Linked DNA regions of Homo sapiens: region 2 is linked to region 1. The links are contacts of gene promoters, found by promoter capture Hi-C in blood cells and fetal thymus (Javierre and others, 2016). All regions are on one chromosome and are shown on one strand. Each heading gives the region's core, a stretch centred on a gene start or on the middle of the fragment in contact. The rest is flanking DNA. Distances are from core to core; before and after follow the strand shown. Region 1 holds the start of MED9 (mediator complex subunit 9). Region 2 holds the start of ATPAF2 (ATP synthase mitochondrial F1 complex assembly factor 2).

The links. The method cuts DNA at HindIII sites, captures the fragments that hold promoters and counts their contacts. A CHiCAGO score of 5 or more calls a contact.
Region 2: a contact is called between a fragment that was not itself captured here and the fragment with the promoter of MED9 in region 1, in 5 of 17 cell types (total CD8 T cells, fetal thymus, total B cells and 2 more). The highest score is 7.6, in total CD8 T cells.

The regions. Positions count from the first base shown.
Region 1 is chr17:17,475,706-17,478,591 of GRCh38, forward strand. MED9 (mediator complex subunit 9) reads left to right here and starts at 1,295. Exons shown (of 2, transcript NM_018019.3): 1 at 1,295-1,560. The coding sequence starts at 1,337. RefSeq lists an enhancer at 1,299-1,398. The HindIII fragment of the contact is 9,122 bases long and covers 64-2,886 here.
Region 2 is chr17:18,037,075-18,040,235 of GRCh38, forward strand. It overlaps ATPAF2 (ATP synthase mitochondrial F1 complex assembly factor 2), which reads right to left and starts at 2,094. Exons shown (of 8, transcript NM_145691.4): 1 at 1,807-2,094. The coding sequence starts at 1,939. GID4 (GID complex subunit 4 homolog) reads left to right here and starts at 2,334. Exons shown (of 6, transcript NM_024052.5): 1 at 2,334-2,828. The coding sequence starts at 2,391. RefSeq lists enhancers at 1,753-1,822, 1,833-1,882, 2,023-2,132 and silencers at 2,243-2,332, 2,343-2,932. The HindIII fragment of the contact is 346 bases long and covers 1,219-1,564 here.

The DNA of each region.
Region 1 (2,886 bases), core at 45-2,544:
TTACAGCAGAATGGGCTCACCAGTTGACAGCTTTCCCCACTCATGTCTTCTACTCACTAGCTAAGCTTGGGGTGGGTGTCCCCATTGCCCGGAAAATTACTACACAGCCCTCATATCAAACTTGTTTTGAGAAGCATAACCATAAACCCATCTTTGGCCTATGATCCTAGGGAGTCCTCATGCCAACAAGACCTTTTGGGGTCAGCCACGCATGTGAAGTTAGAATGCAGTTTAGGCTGTGCCATGAATCTGAACTAAATATGATTTTAGGGGTGAGGAAACTGGGACCTAGGGGCTTGGGGAACTGGCCCGAAGGTATGGAGAGTACCTGACCTTGTCGTTCTTCCAGGATATGATATTTACTCCTGGCACCAATCCCCTCTACCTTGTACTGAAAGCAAGGACAGCCTGCCTGCAACCACACATACAGGTGGCCATCCAGCAGGTGCATACTAAATGTGTGTTGAGTTGAATTATTAGACTCTTTCTAAGCAACCTTGCAGCATTGAAGGGACCGCAATCCCTTTGCCTCTGCGTCCTTAGGGCTAAACTCGAGGTCTCGATGTCTTGCACTGTGGGCTGGGCCGGGTTTGGTGCCTCACCCAGCAGGTAAGTGCTGTCTACGCCTCCCACAGGTCCAGTGGCTCCTCTCCAGACTTGGGTGCACTGGGCCAGGCTGCACCTTACTAATCTCAAGGCTTCCTGTGTTTGTGGCTTTGGGGCCCTCTTCATCGTGTGAATAGGAATAAGAAGATTGTTATTTCTGGCCGGGTGCAGTGGCTCACGCCTGTAATCCCAGCACTTTGGGAGGCCGAGACGGGCGGATCACCTGAGGTGGGGAGTTCGAGACCAGCCTGATCAACATGGAGAAACCCCGTCTCTACTAAAAATATAAAATTAGCCGGGCGTGGTGGTGCATGCCTGTAATCCCAGCTACTAGGGAGGCTGAGGCAGGAGAATCGCTTGAACCCGGGAGGCGGAGGTTGCGGTGAGCCGAGATCGCGCCACTGCACTCCAGCCTGGGCAACAAGAGCGAAATTCCGTCTCAAAAAAAAAAAAAAGATTGTTATTTCTGAAATAAACCCCTATTTCTCACTATTTAATAATTTAGCAATCTTGACTCACAATCCAAATCCAGGCACCCCAGACCCACCCACGGCCCGTTGCCTAGCAACAGCCTCCCCACCCCCGCCTCCGCGCCTTTTCCCGCCGACTGCCCAGTGCGCACGCTCAGAGCCTTCCTCCACACCCCGCCCCTGCAGGGCGCGCGGTGGTGACGTGTAGAGTGCGCGACGCTTTTGGCGACCCGACCTCTGGCTAACCTACCCCCGGAGCCATGGCCTCTGCTGGGGTGGCAGCCGGGCGACAGGCGGAGGATGTATTGCCGCCAACGTCCGACCAGCCGCTGCCTGACACCAAGCCGCTGCCGCCTCCTCAGCCGCCGCCGGTCCCTGCGCCTCAACCGCAGCAGTCGCCGGCGCCACGGCCTCAGTCACCTGCCCGCGCGAGGGAGGAAGAGAACTACTCCTTTTTACCTTTGGTTCACAACATCATCAAATGGTAAGAACCTAGGAGAGGACCAGGCCCCATACTCCCTCCAGCTTCTCCTCTCAGCCGTTTCAGAGCTGCAAGAGGCCTTGGCGCTCTGGGGCACGCCCCCGTTTCACAGATGGGGAAACTCAGACCCAGAGCGGGAAGAGGCCTTTCCCAAGACCACAGAGACATTCCATGAGTTAAGCAAACGATTTGAGCCTCGAGAGGTGCGATATCCTTAAGAATGAAGCCAGCTTAGAGACTAAATGCAGACTCTTGTCCAGCGGCTCAAATGTTCATCCCAGCGATCTTGAGCAAATTAAATCTCTTTAAGCCTCAGTTTTCTCACCTTTAATGTTGGTAATACTCACTTTAGTTCCTTAGTTCAGCAAACTCAACAGATAAGCATCATCTTCCCTGTGCCAAGTGCTACGGGATGGACGCAGTAAAAGGGGCCAACTTTTCACCCCCAAAGGTTTAGATAGAAGGAAAAAAAGACATGATTGGGAATAACCCACAATTCAAAAAGATTGAGACGGGAGTGGTGGCGATGGGAAACATTAGACTAAGCAGAAACACAGAAGTTGCCTCAGATGATTAGACCCACTTGTACTGACTTTGTTCTAACAGTACCAAAGGAAATAATTGTTGTCATCCTTTTGGCCAGCCTTCAGGGTAGCCTGAGTTTTCAAAGTGACTCTGTAGAGGAAAAACCAAAAACAAAAACACAAAAGTCTCACTGATCCTTATGTTTGCCTAAATTATTATTTTTTTTGAGAGAGGGTCTCGCTCTGTCACCCAGACTGGAGTACAGTGGCGTGATCTCGGCTCACTGCAGCCTCAACCTCCTGGCCTCAAGCCATCCTCCCACCTCATCCTCCCAAGTAACCGGAACCACAGGCATGAGCCATGGCACCCAGCGAATTTTTGTATTTTTTGTAGAGATGGAGTTTCACCATGTTGCCCAGGCTGTAAATTATTTTCATTATGTTACTTCACTGTATATCCACGTGATACTAGGTGTAAACCCCTAGGCTTGTAACTCTTACTCAACCATTAAAGACCAAAACAAAGTAAATTAAAAGAAAATTACGATTCCAGTAACATTCAGGTGAACATGAATGTGCTCTTCACTGTTTTACTGAAATGGAATTGTTACAACGTGAAGGTCTTGACTGTTAGTGGCCCACCCACTTTTGAGTTTAAGCAAATTAGATTCACTTGCTGTGGGATGACCTGATGCTCTTCTGCCACTTTTCAAATAACTACAAAGGCTTTGTTCTCACATTAGACCCTGGCTTCATTTGGTTTCACTTGGTGTTTAAATACTGTTTATAGGGGCCAGGCATGGTG
Region 2 (3,161 bases), core at 142-2,641, 560 kb after region 1:
ATAAATAAATAAATACGTAAATAAATAAATTAATTAACCCTTTGCTTTTTGCCAACTTGGTGAACTCCTGAATGTGTCCCCTTTGCTATGCCTCCCTGGGATGCCCTTCCTTTCTCTTCTTTACTGGCCCTTCATGGCCCATTTCCAGGCCCTTCCCCTGAGTCCTGCAGGTGAAACTTCAGCTCCCTGCTGCATCCAGCCCCCTTCCCCATTTCTATAAAGTTATAGAACTTGGCTGGGCGCGGTGGCTCACGCCTGTAATCCCAGCACTTTGGGAGGCCGAGGTGGGCGGGTCACAAAGTCAGGAGTTCGAGACCAGCCTAGTCAATATAAACCCCATCTCTACTAAAAATACAAAAATTAGCAGGGCATGGTGGCAGACGCCTGTAGTCCCACCTACTTGGGAGGCTGAGACCACAAAATCGCTTGAATCTGGGAGGCGGAGGTTGCAGTGAGCCGAGATGGTGCCACTGCACTCCAGCCTCTGTGACAGAGGAGACTCCGTCTCAAAAAAACACAAAAAAACAGAAGAAGAAGAAAAAAAAAGAACTTGACAGCCAGAAAGATCCTCAAAGGCAACCTAGTACTTCAACGCATGGAGAAAAATGAGGAAGTAGTTGCATGCCCAAGATCACACAGACCTCAGAGGTTCAGCCAGCATCAGATCCTAGATTTGCACTCCTGCCACAATGCCAAACTGCCTGTGAAGTTCTGGATTTTCTAAAACAGGCAGTGTCAGGGAAAAGTCCCTCATACCTTGCTGTCACCCTGGACACGTTCTAGATACCCAACACTCTCCCACCTTTTTGCTGAACTCCTACTCATCTATCATGGCTCAGCTTAAACAAACGCCCTTTCACCCAAGACCCATTCTAAACCCTGAACATCCCCAAGATGGGAGTAAGCGATTCTCTGTGTTCTCACAGTTTCTTTGTATGTCCCTTATCAGGATATTATAAACCACAATTTAATCAGAATATTATAACCTTTTGCAATGAACAGTGAACATCATTCAGGTGGGCCTTTTTCTTCTTTAATTGAGCTTCTCTACCAATACATACAGGTGGGTCTTAAAGACAACCGTGCCTCCTGCCTCCAGCACAATAAAACTAATTGAATGGTGGGAGGGTGTTACTGCTCTTCATTCACTGAAATGAGTCATTCTCACTCTTACCCTGACACCACTCACCATCAGCAATGAAAGAGCCACTACTTCTAAGCTTCATCAGAGTTGGAGGTGGAGGTGACTCCACAGTCAGAGGTGGAGGTGTCAATTTCTATTTAGGAGAGAAGGCTGCAGATGGCAGAGGTTGTGGTAGGAGGGAAAGTCAGGAAACCTGCAGCAGAAGTGCCCGGGATGGAGGAATGAAGGCCCAGGTTCTAGGTCCCTTCTGGGCAGGTCTTGTGTTGGGCAGTGGAGACACGGAAAACAGTCAGACAGACACCACAAACCTCTGAGAGAGTCTGCCTGTAACCCAGACGAAGTCCTGATTCAGAGCCCAAACTTCCCCTTTTGAAAACAAAGATGACACCTGCTTTCCTTATTAAAGGGAGGGCAGCCATAAGCTTTGAGAAAACCTGCACAGGCCAAATATCAATTACTGTATCGTGCGTGACTCGCTGTTCCCTCTCGGGTCGTCTGCCCTTGTCTGGGCTTCACTTTCTCATCTGTAAAAAGACCTGACTGGCCTGCATAACCTCATGAGCCTGAACCCTGCCTCAGTTACTTCGCTTTGCACAGCCGAAGCCCGAAGCCCACCTTACCCCAGCTCGGCCCCAACCCAAAAGAACATGTCATGGTCTTACCTGTCGGCGGGGCGTAAGCCCGGGCTGGAGACGGGATGGTTGGCCCCGGACTCATAGAAGCGCTGGGGCCACCCGCCGGCCGATTCAGGAGACGGCGTCCCCCGTCCCGCAGCCGGAGGCAGCTCCTCCACATCGCGCCCGAGGGTCTGGGAAGATGCGAGACGCGAAACCTGGAGCAGGAAACACAGAGCGATGGGATCCCCAAAGCCGCACGGTCGGGCTGTACGGAAACCTCTCAACGCCTCCTCAGAGCCCTCAACCTCCCTTGGACGCCGCCATCTTCCGCATGACACCTACGGCGCGCCGTCGCCGCCGCGCGCCTCCTGCGCACACCCCCAGTCAATCAGCATCACAAACGCACCTCGCCCCGCCCCCTCCACGCCGCGCCTCGGCGAGGAGACTACAAGTCCCAGCGGGCCGCTCGCGCACCGCGCCACGTGTTTTCTCCTCCCGCCAATGGGCGGAAGCGCCGCCTGAGCCTGCTCCCGCCCCCCAGGCTCGCCTGAGCCAATCGGAAGGGGCGGGGTGTGTGTGTGTCTGTGTGTGTTTGTGTGTTGTGTGTCTGTGAGTGTCTGTGTGTGTGTATGTGTGCGCGAGGGCAAGTCGGGAGGGGGACCCAGCTCAGGACTGGGAGGCCCTGCTCGCAGGTCCCTGGGTCCCGGTGGCGGCCGGAGCGCTTGCTCCGCAGGCAGCGGGCGGGTGGTCGCCCCTCCCGCCCCCACCCCGCGCGTGCGCGCCCCGGCCTCTCCCTCCCCGCCACCCTCCTCGGCTCCCGCGCGGCGGCGGCGGTTCCTCTCCCACTCCCCCCAGCCCTGGCTCCGGGGGACCCCGCGATGCCGGTCCGCACCGAGTGTCCCCCGCCGGCCGGTGCCTCCGCTGCCTCCGCGGCCTCACTCATCCCGCCGCCGCCCATCAACACCCAGCAGCCCGGCGTGGCCACCAGCCTGCTCTACAGCGGCTCCAAGTTCCGCGGCCACCAGAAGAGCAAGGGGAACTCGTACGACGTAGAGGTGGTGCTGCAGGTGAGCGCCGGGCCGGGCCGGGGCCCGAGGGCCTCCTCGCGGCGCTCACGGGCCGTGCCCGCTTCGGCTCCTCGACCCCGCAGCCGCGGAACAGGCCCTCGCCGCCGGGGCCTCCTGCACCCGGCGCTTCCCACCCGGGACCTTCCCAGCCTGTGTCTCACACTCTCCGAGCCCCAGCCCTGACCTGCCCCTTCGGACCCAGAGCCCGTCGTGACCGGCTCCTGGCGGACCCCGAACACTCCCAGACTTGAAGCCCGTGACCGGCCCGTCTGGGATCCGGAAGCCCCTCATGACTCGGAGAAGGCCTGGGTCCTTCCTCCCCATGACCTGTCG